Regions from separate parts of the Homo sapiens genome. Here regions 1 and 3 are each linked to region 2. The links are contacts of gene promoters, found by promoter capture Hi-C in blood cells and fetal thymus (Javierre and others, 2016). All regions are on one chromosome and are shown on one strand. Each heading gives the region's core, a stretch centred on a gene start or on the middle of the fragment in contact. The rest is flanking DNA. Distances are from core to core; before and after follow the strand shown.

Region 1 (3,912 bases), core at 1,372-3,871, 110 kb before region 2:
AGCAGGGTCTCCAACCCAGAGACAACCCAAATACCTGCAAAGTTCCAGAGCCCCTGCTCTAAAGTCTTCCACTCAAGAGCCTCCCCCGCCCTGGCCTTCATGAACCCAGTCGTTCTGTTTCCGGAGCTCCAGACACATCACGCCTGCCTTGGGGCTGGGGCTCTGTGAGGAGGGGCAGTGCTCTTCTCCCTGCTGCCTTGTGCCAAGGCCAGTGCCTGGCACAGAGCAGGTGTGCAAAGGGAAGAAGGCCTAAGAGTGCACATCCTTCTTCCTCTGAGTCCCGAGGGAGAAAGGGGTGGGCTAGTGACCCAGGTCCCCATAGGCAGAATTCTGAGGCTCCCATGGGATAACTTGGTGGGAGTCATGCCTCAATAGGACAGAAAGCACCTGGCCCCCTCAGCCCCCAGCTCAGTGTTTTCCTGAGCCCCAAGGCTAAAGCCAGCATCACCTCCCTTCTTCAGCCAGGGAGAAGTGGCTGCAGGCGCTGCCCACCTCTCTCCAGAGCGAGGAGGAAGTCGCGGTTCCGTTGCAGCTCCTTCATGAACTCCTCGTTCTGCAGGAAAAGCGCGATCCTCTCGTCCTCCAGGTACTGCTTCCAGCGGCTCTCCTGGTCTCCGGGCCCTGGCCCAGCCATGGCAGGTGGACATCCCTCTCCACTCCCAGGCTTGGGGCCCCCAGCGTTACCCTGAGGAGGGAAGCGAGCATGTTGAATGTGTACACACAAGGGTACATGTTGCACAAACGTCCACATCCCTCTGGTTGCACACATGCCCTGTCCAACATCCTCCAGCCCTCACCTGAGGCTCACACCTCCTAATGGAACCTGGTTGCGAGCCAAAATCCAACGGACAGGTCAGAGCCATTGCTGCAGGGGACACAGCAGTAGCCTAAAAACTATTTTTCCCCCACGCCACAGACCACCTCATACCTTCATCTACAACCTGAACAGTCCTGAAAACAAATCTGCAGACTGTGGAACAGCCTATACGTCAATTCCCAAACTCAACCCTCTCCCTGCACCAGCAGCCTCAGGGTGGACCTGCCCCGCTGTGGGGCACCTTGGGGCATGCCAACATCTAGCAAGAAGCAGCCTCTGGCCCTTTCCCAAGGGAGGAAGGGGGGTGCTCTGGCCCTCCACCATTGGCCACCCCATGCCCGCCTCTCTCCAGCCTGAGGTGACTGCTGCAGCAGACAGCCTCCTTAGGCTGTCACCTTCCCTGGATAGAACAGGAAACCTCCAGGCCCAGGCAGGAAGTGAGGCTTTCAGTTCAGCATTCCTGCCCTACGAACCCAGGGCAACAGAAATAGCTCAGCCTGGGTTTAAACATCAGGAAGTAAAACTGGCTGGCACAAATTGTGTGGGCAAAGAGAGATGCTGGACAAGCAGGTGGGAGTGGAAGGCGGGGGCGGCCCCTGTTACCTGTATGCTGTCCAGCTGCTGGGGCAGGATGCGGAGAAAGTCATCCGGAAGGTTGCCCAGCAGTGGTGGGTTCCAGTTCCGATAGCGTCTCTGGCTTGTAGGGGCTCCAGAGCCCAGCGCGTCGATACTAGGGGATGGCAGGTGACAGGGAAGAGGAAGTCATTAAGCCCAACCCCAGGTCTCCTGGCCCCATCACACCAGGTCCTCAGGCAGGTCGGATCCTGCTCAGAGATTCCCATGGCCTCCACTGCCTCCAGAACAAAGGCCCGTCACTCTGTCTCATCACTGGAGATGTCTCCACCAGCCTCAGCGAACTCCCCAGCCATTCATGCTCTCCAGTCACTCAGTGCCCTTCCAGGTCTCTGGACCTACAGAGCTGTCTGTCCACGGTGCACATGTGGAACTCTGTGGATTTAGCCATAGATGTTTACAAATGTCCCCTAAAGACAGCAGGGATCGCATCCTTTCATGCTTCTATCCTAGCACCTACACAGTGCCAGGCTCATGGTGCTGAGTGACAGGTATGGTCCAAAGGAACAGACACATAAGCCACCAACAGCACAGCCTGCTGCATGCTGGTTTGCTGAGGAAGGGGCATATGGGGACGCCAGGATCCCTACAGAGGGTAAAGCAGATCTGAGCTCCAGTTCTGGCTCAACCACCAGCCGGCAGGGTAGTCTTAGGTGGGCCCCTGTTCCCTCTAGGGCTCGGTTTCCTTATCTAGAAACTGCTGCCTCCCTGCCCAGGTGCTGGGGAGCCCCTCAGGAGGCCGTGTCCTGAGCAATGTTCTGAAAACGTGCGTGGAGATGTGAGTGTGGAAGGGATCTCGCTCTCAGGGTGCTCTGGGGCCGCTCTTTCCAGGCCCGTTGTGTGTGTGGCAGGAGCTCTGTGCCATGGCAGAGCCAACAGCTGGGCAAGGCAGTAGAGGAAGAGGGGGTGGCACACACCCTCCCTGACCCCCAGGCTCCCGCCCTACCGCCCTGGGCCTGAGGGCAGCTCGGAGCCCGGCCAGGAGGTCCCCACAGCTCCATGGCAGCCTGCAGCGTGGCAACCGCAGGACACGTGTTCCGCTGAATCAGGAAAACGGCACACTGAGAAGGCAGCCGAGGGCCGGGCGGTGGGGGCTGCTCTAGCTCTCGGGCCTGGCTTTGATTTGGTCTTCAGCTCTAGGAATCCCGCCCGCCCCCTCACTGGAGGGGAGCTTTTCCGGGCTGCCGCTGACTATGGAAATAACTTCCTTTCCTTTTCTATTTCGGGCGGGTGGCCGGCGGCGGGGGCGAGGGGAAGGGGCGGGGGCGGCAGCAGAAGGGATAACCAGCTGCTAAGTGCCTGGTGGGAGCTCAGCTCTTGCAGACTGGAGCCAAGGGAACCCCAGCACGCCTCGTCCACCCTCTCCCTGCACAGACACAGGGGGAGAGGGAATGGTCTGGAGAGCAGCTTGCATCACAACCCGGGACTCCCATTCCTAGGCCAAATTTTTTTCTACATCACTGCCACCTTCTGTCACTGTTGGAGGCTTCATTTTTCTCCAAAGGCCAGAGATGGGGAGAGAGGAAGCCTCATCTCTAAGGGACTCGCAGACCACCCCAGGCTACAGCAGGGAGGGACCCTCGCCAGGGGTATTACCAGTTCTTGAGGTCTCAGGGTCTTCATCTGGGACATGGGTGCCCACCCCCAATTTAACCACACCTCGGAGCCACCCAGGAAAGCAGTGGAGGGAGAACCTCAGAGGTGCACCTGGACCCCTCTAGCCATGAAGACTCCAAGTGGAGAAGGGCACAAGGTGGAGGAGGCCCCTGTTCTCAGCTGAGTTTCCTTGCTGCTAGGCCTGTGGTCCTGAAGGAAGGCCAGGCCCAGCCCCCTCCCGGCCCCTTGGCTGGCACTGGTAGAGATGAGGTCAGCCCACAGCTGCGTGAGCCAGGGCACAGGCAGCCCAGGCAACTCCATTGTGGTCGGAAAGGAATGTCAGAAATGAGCTGAGACGCAAATAAAAAAAAAAACTTCCAAGGCTGTAATTTTAACGGAAAAACAGCAGGCGGCCTGTGTGGAAGGGTCCCCGGGGTTTCAGAGACTGTCTTTCAGACAGATGGAGGGAAGGACAGACTGGGGGAGGGGAAGGAGGGAGAAGCTGGGGAGGATTTCCCAGCCCAGAGCCTCTGCCTCTGGACCCCAAAACTGCAACTTCAAGCCCCATCGGACCCCCAGGTTTACCCATGGAACATCAGACCTGATGGAAAGGGATTTCAGACTCAGGACTTCCAGGTAAAATTTTTGGTAAGAACTGGACATTGAGGTCCAGAGGGGGTTCAAGCCATGTCCCAGGACACACACATCATCCAGGCAAAACCTGGGCCCAGGGATTGTGACATTTGAAGCATGCTCCCCGGGGTGGCCCTGCCTCTCTGTGCCCTAGGAGGCCAATACCCACGCTCCCAAACTCTGCCCCATCTGCAGGTTCTCGGCACCCCAGTGACTGGAGGTAGCAGATGGGG
Region 2 (3,636 bases), core at 417-2,916:
CCATAATGTTGGGTATTTTAGATTTTAAGAAGCCCAAATATATTTCCATAACTACTTAAAGATCAAATTGCCCACATTTGAAAAAATATGTCTTAAAACAACAGGCCAGTCTACACAGTAGGTAATTTCTGAGTTATCCAATTCTCTATATTAACTCCACTAGGATGAATCCAGTGGCTGGGAGAATAATTTTTTGAAAATTCTGCATCCGTTCCTGTTAGTTTCAAAAGGTATCAAGCGCCCCAGCTACGCGTTTGGGATTTCACGAAGTATTCAAAGGAAAATAACTCAGAGAGGCGGGAAGAACGCACTTAAAAGTGACGAGCTTCCTAACCTCCTCCAGTTCCGAAGTTTCCCCGTGAGCTCATCGCTACTGCCCACTGAATGCTTCGTTTTGCAAACAGAAACGAAGTAGGAAAAAAATAAGTTCCAGCCTAGATCTGCCAAACAGGGGTCCCCCATCTAAAGTGGGCGGGCAAGAGAATTGCCAAAACACATCGGCTACAGTCACTTTCAAGTTTCTTGCAAAAAAGCGAAGACCAACATCCCAGAGAGTGACTCATCTGGGGGCTTTGTAAGCGGACTTTGTTTGCTCTCTCCACTTGGTTGGAGGAAACGTTCGAGGTGGGCGAGAAAGAAAAGCGCTTCGGGAGAAGGTCGGGCCTCCAGGAGTCCCGGCCCCCACCGCTCCCCGCCTGCCCCGGGCCGGCCCGGCTGGGGGATTCCCCAGGCTGAATGGGACGGCGGGAGAGCTGGACAGAGGGAGAAGGTGTCAGCTGCCAAGGCTCGGCTGAGACTTGGGAAAAAAAAATGTAAATCCAGTGAAAAAGTTTGGGGAGGGGATACACACTCACAACATCCGCCCCCCCAACTGGGTAAACACGAGAGGGGTGGTGGCGGTGAGGGGGAGTGGCGGGGAACCTGGGGATACCCGCTATTCGCGGGGACACGGGAGGGGGTCAGAAAGTCAACACACGCACGCACACACACAAAAAGACGAGGAAGGTGAAAAGAGAACAAGCGAAAGATGGATGAAGTGGCGGGGAGGAGACTCAGGGCAGGACCTGGGGACCTCCTCACCCCACCGTGGGGGACCGGGCCGGCACGCAATGGCCCAGCAGCCCGCGCTATCCAGCGGCCCGGCGCCCTCCTTTCTCTGGGCCGCGGGGTGGTGACAGCGACCGGCCTCCTCCCTTCCCCTTCAGAGCGAGAGGGAAGGGTGTGTGTGAGTGTGTGTGTGTGCGTGTGTGTGCTGGGGGGCCCCCGGGTTCACCCCGCGGCCTGCTATCTCCCCCGCACCCCGTGAGGCCGCCTCCTTTCACCTCAGCAGCCCCGCTTCGCCGGGGCGGGCGGGCGGAAAAACAAAGGGGGATTAAGGCCGGGCCGGAGAGCGGAGCCGGGAGGGAGGGGAGGAGGAGCGCCCGCCCGCCCGCCAGCCCGGGGCCCGGCCCCCCTGTCCCCCCCGTGCCCCCCCGGGGGGGCCCCCAGTACCTGGAACAGGAACGCGGTCCAGTTGGCCTCCATGGCTGCGGCGGCCGACCCCCCTCCTCCCCACTCCCCCCGCTCGGGGAGCCTCCTCAGCCGGAGGAGGCGACAACAAAGCGGCGGCGGCGGCGGCGGCAACGGCAGCGGCGGCTCCTCAACATGGCAGCGCCGAGCGCGGCCACTTCCGGTAACCTCCGGGACGCACCACCGCGGCGGCGAGCGCGGGCGGGGGGGGAGCCCCGGCCCGGCCGCCGCCGCCCCCAGTCGCCCGGACCCCCTCTGGGCGTCCCCGCTGCCGGCTCGCCGCCTCGGAGCTCAGCCAGTGCCCGCTGGCGGTGGGGTCAGGGCCCCCGCGGGGGGGCTGGGGTGGGGCCCGGGGCGGGGATGGGGCGCGGCGTCCCCCCCCGCGGGGGTGTGTGGTGCTGCGGTCCGTGGCTCAGGCAGCTGGAGCAGGGGGAGCTCAGGAGAGAAGATGGAGGACGCCAGGGTCTGGCGCTGGCCCGCTGGGCACAGCTGGGCCGTCTCCCGTGACTCAGACACGGTGTCCAGCACCGTCGCGTCCCTGTTAGACCCTCAGCGGAGGGCACAGGCCACGGCGGACACTCGGCTCTTCAGTCGCTCATGCACAGCATGGTCCCCACCTCCAAACTGGGGGAAGCCCTTTCGACTTCGAGCCTCTCTTCCTTTTGGCATTTCCTCCCCGGCCGGCTAAGCCCTCTGCGCTCTCGCTATGATATGCATCTCATGGCGAGATGGCCTTCCAACTCAAGCAGGGAATCCCACTGGGGTGCAGCCTCAGATCCTCTCAGTGTGGAGGGAAACACTTCCCACGCGTAGAGATGTCATTACTGGGTTATTCTTGGGTGAAGGGCTGAGCCTCCCCATCCTCCCCTTCACTCCAAGATAGGATGTGAAATTCTATCCCAACACCCCTCCTCTCCCGCCAAAAATAAAAACAAGTGAGATAGTATAGACAAATTATTTTAGTCCTTTAGTACAGTCTGTTTCCTCCTTCACCCCCAGAACAAAAATCGAACTTCTGGTTGGACAGCGTCAGATGTCACTGAGGTGACCCCAGCCTGTTTGCAGTTCCAAGTCTTCCGTGTAGGCGTCACTGCTACTGGAACTTTGTAGATGAGGAGCCTGTATGATGATGTCCTGAACATTTCTATCCTTTCCTCACACAGAGGGAAGCTACTGGGAATATCAGAGACAAGCTATTATTAAACAAGTGTCTCTAGTCCAAGACATCTCCTGTGGCAGGGAAATGAGGGGGCAGGCTGTATCAGTGATATTTTTATAAACTCTGGTTTTAGAAAAAATTCTTCAGATGGACGCATTATTTTAAGACTTTAACATTTTCCAAAACCAACTGAATCTTATCCCCTCCATTTATCCCCCTCCAGACACTTCTAATCAAGGTCACCATCTCCAACTTCCCCCATAGACAATAAAAATATGGCTGGAGAATTCTACTGTAATAGAAAACCAAGGAGATATAGTAATTTGACAGTGTGTTTCCTTTCCATCCACTAGACAAGAATACCCCCTCCCATTCTTTCCTCCCCTCAGTCACCAGAATGAAGGGGCTGGAAAACGTTGGTCTGGTTCCTTTTAGAGCTGATTCCCCATTGGATACTGCCTGGAGGCCTTGGGGATGAATGAGAAGTTCTGCAGTTTGGATCAGTAGCAGAAGCAGGTAACACATCAGGGAACCGGTCAGCCTAAGATAGGAGGGGACAGAAAATGATGAAAGAGTTTCTGATACATTTATCAGCTAAATTGCTATGGTCACCCCCATGTCTCCTGTAATGTCCAAACCTAAGGAATTAACTAAGTAAACTAAAACCTTTGTGTTCTTGCTCTGACCTTGGACAATGGAATTCTTCTTATTTTCATTCAGTGGATAGCAAATCTGCTTCTTCCCTGCCTTAACTCACTCAAGGTCTCTGTGATGCACTCCAGAGTTTTCCTCCTTCCCTGCATAGTCTTCTCCTCCCTAGCTGCCTTTCAAATTGGTGAAAATGAAGCTTCAGGATTATGAAAACTAGTACTTAATGAAGACCATTATTCTAATGACAATATCGCTGGACTCTTGAACTTGTTATGCTGGGATCTAGAAACCCTTTCCCCAGCAATCTTTCACACAGC
Region 3 (3,593 bases), core at 967-3,466, 94 kb before region 2:
ACTCACTGTGGTATCCCCAGTGCCCGAATCAGTGCCTGGCATGGTCAATAGACATTTATTAGGCGAATGAGTAAAGAAGGGAAGGAAAGATGGAGGAGTGCTGTAACTGTGGATTTCCCTCCCTTTCCTTCCTCCTCCGGCTCACAGCAATGATGGGAGGGGGCCTTTTCAGTTTCCAAAGCCCTCTCTCCCCTACACACTCATTTACTCCTCACAACAAACCTAGAAGATATATAAGGGAATGCGTTATTATCTCACTTCACAGACAAGGGGTCTGAGGCCAAGGCAGCCCAGTGACGTGGACACAAGGCTGATGGCAGGCTGCCCCTTTCCAAGCCAGTGCCAGCACCAGGGGGCAGGAGGCTAACCCCCTCCTAGATCTGACTTGACCTTCCATTCTGCCCCCCAGGAGGACCAGGGCCCAACCCTGAAAGGTGGGAGTTAGAACAGGAAGCCACAGGTCCCAATTGCCAGCACCTTCCTGTGTCCCACCCAGAGGCCACTCTTCTGGAAGGAGGGTAAGACTCCTCAGACCAGCTCTGTCTCTGTGCACCCCAGGCTCCCTCCTCTGAAAATCACCAAGGAGCAGACCCTACGTCCATCTGTGACTGCCGTGATGCCTGCCTGCAGAGGGATTTGCTTCTTGCCTAAGATCTGGCACAGCCCAGTGGCGCTGCCAAGCCAGGCCACTAGGTGGTGTCCCAGAGCTCAGGCCCTGGCAGCTCCCAGGGAAAGGGCCAGAGTGGCTTTTCTCTCAGAACCCAAGAATGTGCCCCACCCCCACCCTTGGCCTGATTAAAAGGGAGAAGAACCACCCAGTTGCCTCAGGGGTCTTAGCACCCAAGACCCGCAGAGTTGTCAAATCATTTAATCCTAGGCAGGAAATCTTTGGCACATGTGCCACCACCTTCTAGCCCTCATCCTTGGCAGACATCACTAATCCACCCAGGTATTACTGTCCTACAGAACACACACAACCTCAGAACCCTTTGCAACACCGCCTCTGTGCAAGCCACGACCAAGTGATTAGAACTGGCATGCAAGACAAGCCACTTGCCAGCGCTCTCATTTCCCGTATGAGGACACGCAGGCCAGGCTCACTCTGTCTCATTGGGAATCCAGGCTGCAAAAGCCAGTGGGGCCAGAATGAGGTCATATGACCCTGGGAGGCTTGTGTAACCATGGTTGAGTCCTGCGGAAACCTCAAGTGTGTAATGGCAGAGGCTGCTGGGCTGGGGCAGCTGCATTCTCGGCCAATTGTCACCTCAGAGCGGGTGGGGTGCAGGGAAATCTGCCTGAGCTTCTTGGCTTCAGAGCTGAAGAGGCCCCAAAAGGGGGTGAAAGGAAGGGAAGAGGAGAGCAAGAGACAGAGGCTCTCAGGGTATGTGTGTGTGTGTGTGTGTGTGTGTTTCAGGCAGCCCTGACAGAGACGCCTTGTCCTCCTGCCCCTGCAAAGGCTTGTTTTCTTCCCAAGCTATTAATGTCGCTGCAGCTTCAAAAGCCGGGTGACCTTTAAACGCTGAGCCTCCTGCTCCTGCCCAAGGCTCGGAAAAGGCTTAATGGAAACTCGACCCAAATGGCCACAGCTGCCGGGGCTGCAACAAAGCCAGCCTCATTCCCGAGGCCCCCAGAGCTGCTGGGCAGCCACACCTGTGCCCACCCCCAGGCAGCCAGGAAGGGCAAAGAGGACCCTCGGGCACAGCCATTGGAGAAAAGAGGCCACTGGACCTTAGGGGAGGAGGAGGAGGAGCAGGGGAGAGACAGACAATGCTGTCATGCGCTGCTGTGTGACCTTGGGTACTTCTCTGGACCACTCATCTCTTCTACATCTGTAAAACACGAGAATTTGGCAGGGCACAGTGGCTCACGCCTGTAATCCCAGCACTTTGGGAGGCCAAGGCAGGTGGATCACGAGATCAGGAGTTCAAGACCAGCCTGGCCAAAATGGTGAAACACCGTCTCTACTAAAAATACAAAAATTAGCCAGGCATGGTGGTGGGTGCCTGTAATTCCAGCTACTCGGGAGGCTGAGGCAGAGAATTGCTTGAACCTGGGAGGTGGAGGTTGCAGTGAGCCAAGATCGTACCACTGCACTCCAGCCTGGGTGACAGAGCAAGACTCCGTCTCAAAAACAAAACAAAACCAAACCATGAGGATTTGATAAAAGGACTCCTAAACCTCTTTGCCAGGAAGAAGCCCCACTGCCACCCAGAGAAGCAGGACACCTGGTTTCCATGCCCACACAGCAGAGCTGCCGGCAGGGGTGAGGCTGGGGGCAGCCCCTGCCTTCCAAAGGCTACTCCATGAGCTGTGCAGGCTGGGCATGGCATGATGCCTTGGCCACCCCCACCCCTATCACTTAGATCTGTAAGGGTGGGGCATTCCTTTAAAAATTGTTTTTAATCTTTAAAAATCAGAAGAAAGGCCAGGCTTGGTGGCTCATGCCTGTAATCCCAGCACTTTGGGAGGCCGAGGCGGGCAGATCATCTGAGGTCAGGAGTTTGAGACCAGCCTGGCCAACATGGTAAAACCCTGTCTCTACTGAAAATACAAAAATTAGCCCAGTGTGGTGGCGCATGCCTGTAATCCCAGCTACTTGGGAGGCTGAGGCACTTGAATCACTTGAACCAGGAGGCAGAGGTTGCAGTGAGCCAAGATCACACCACTGTACTCCAGCCTGAGCAAGAGTGAGACTCTGTCTCAAAAAAAAATCAAAAGAAAAAATACGATTCAAAAAAGACCTTTTCTTTTCTAATTTTTCTCTCTCCTGCCTCAACACTTGTGGCCAAGTCTGTAGCCAATGGGAGATGTGGGGCAGGGACGAGGGCAAGAGGTTTCAGAGAAGGTGAATGAGGTCCCTTGTGGACAAATTGGTCCCAGAGCCTCAGTCCTAAGGACATCATCATTCATCTCTGCTCCTGAGGCCCAAATATCAGGTGTGGCTGCCACAAAAGGCACCATCAAGAAGCCAATTCTGCCTTCTAGTGAAAAAGATCCAAGATGAGGCTTCTCAGCAGAGAAACATGTCATTTGTTTGGTTCATCTTAGCAAGATAATGGTCATAATAGTCATAATGAGAATAGATAACACTTATTGCCTGCTTCCTTATATGCTAGCCACTACTCAAAGTGCCTTATTGCATGTTAACTCTCTTCATCCTCCCTACAGCTCTACAAGGTGCATATTACTACTGCTATTTCCACTTCATAGTAGAAAAATGAGGCGTAGAAGGGTTGAGTAACTTGTTCAAGGTCACACAGCTAAGTGGCCAAGCTGAAATTTGAACCCAGAAGGTCCGATTCCAGATTTAACACTCTGTATCCATTGGGCTTGATCACCATTCCATATTCCCTAGAGCCTAGCACAGAGCTGGGCACACAGCAAGAACTCAATAACTGTGAGTTAAATTGAATACTAAAGGACAGGGTTGCCCCTGGAGAGGCTGGGGGTGCCTGGGTGCCACTGGAGGTATAAGGGATGGTGCTTATGTCCAGGAAGCAAAGGAGAAGACAAAACAGTGGCAGTTTCCTCACAAAACCTTTTTCCCATCCTACTGAAGTTGTCAAGTTGCCTGAGCAACCAACTGTTTTCCA

The links. Contacts are between HindIII fragments. The CHiCAGO score rates a contact against its expected background, and 5 or more counts as called.
Region 1: a fragment that was not itself captured here is called in contact with the fragment with the promoter of VEZF1 in region 2 in 3 of 17 cell types (neutrophils, megakaryocytes and endothelial precursors); the score reaches 7.6 in neutrophils.
Region 3: a fragment that was not itself captured here is called in contact with the fragment with the promoter of VEZF1 in region 2 in 9 of 17 cell types (neutrophils, megakaryocytes, monocytes and 6 more); the score reaches 15.0 in neutrophils.

What each region holds. Positions count from the first base shown.
Region 1 is chr17:57,872,171-57,876,082 of GRCh38, forward strand. It overlaps CUEDC1 (CUE domain containing 1), which reads right to left. Exons shown (of 11, transcript NM_001271875.2): 4 at 1,421-1,547; 5 at 493-685. Among named protein-coding and RNA genes, the nearest start is that of MRPS23, 24 kb to the left of the region's middle. RefSeq lists enhancers at 1,594-2,234, 2,235-2,876, 3,518-3,912. The HindIII fragment of the contact is 8,375 bases long and covers 1-3,912 here.
Region 2 is chr17:57,986,588-57,990,223 of GRCh38, forward strand. It overlaps VEZF1 (vascular endothelial zinc finger 1), which reads right to left and starts at 1,667. Exons shown (of 6, transcript NM_007146.3): 1 at 1,492-1,667. The coding sequence starts at 1,524. It overlaps LOC101929185 (a long non-coding RNA gene), which reads left to right and starts at 1,523. Exons shown (of 1, transcript XR_001752716.3): 1 at 1,523-3,636. It also overlaps a transcript of SRSF1 not described here. RefSeq lists silencers at 930-999, 1,080-1,559, 1,630-1,909 and enhancers at 2,060-2,109, 2,130-2,269. The HindIII fragment of the contact is 4,468 bases long and covers 1-3,513 here.
Region 3 is chr17:57,891,966-57,895,558 of GRCh38, forward strand. The region is part of intron 1 of CUEDC1 (CUE domain containing 1); the gene reads right to left. Among named protein-coding and RNA genes, the nearest start is that of CUEDC1-AS1, 18 kb to the right of the region's middle. RefSeq lists enhancers at 603-1,344, 1,005-1,054. The HindIII fragment of the contact is 9,384 bases long and covers 1-3,593 here.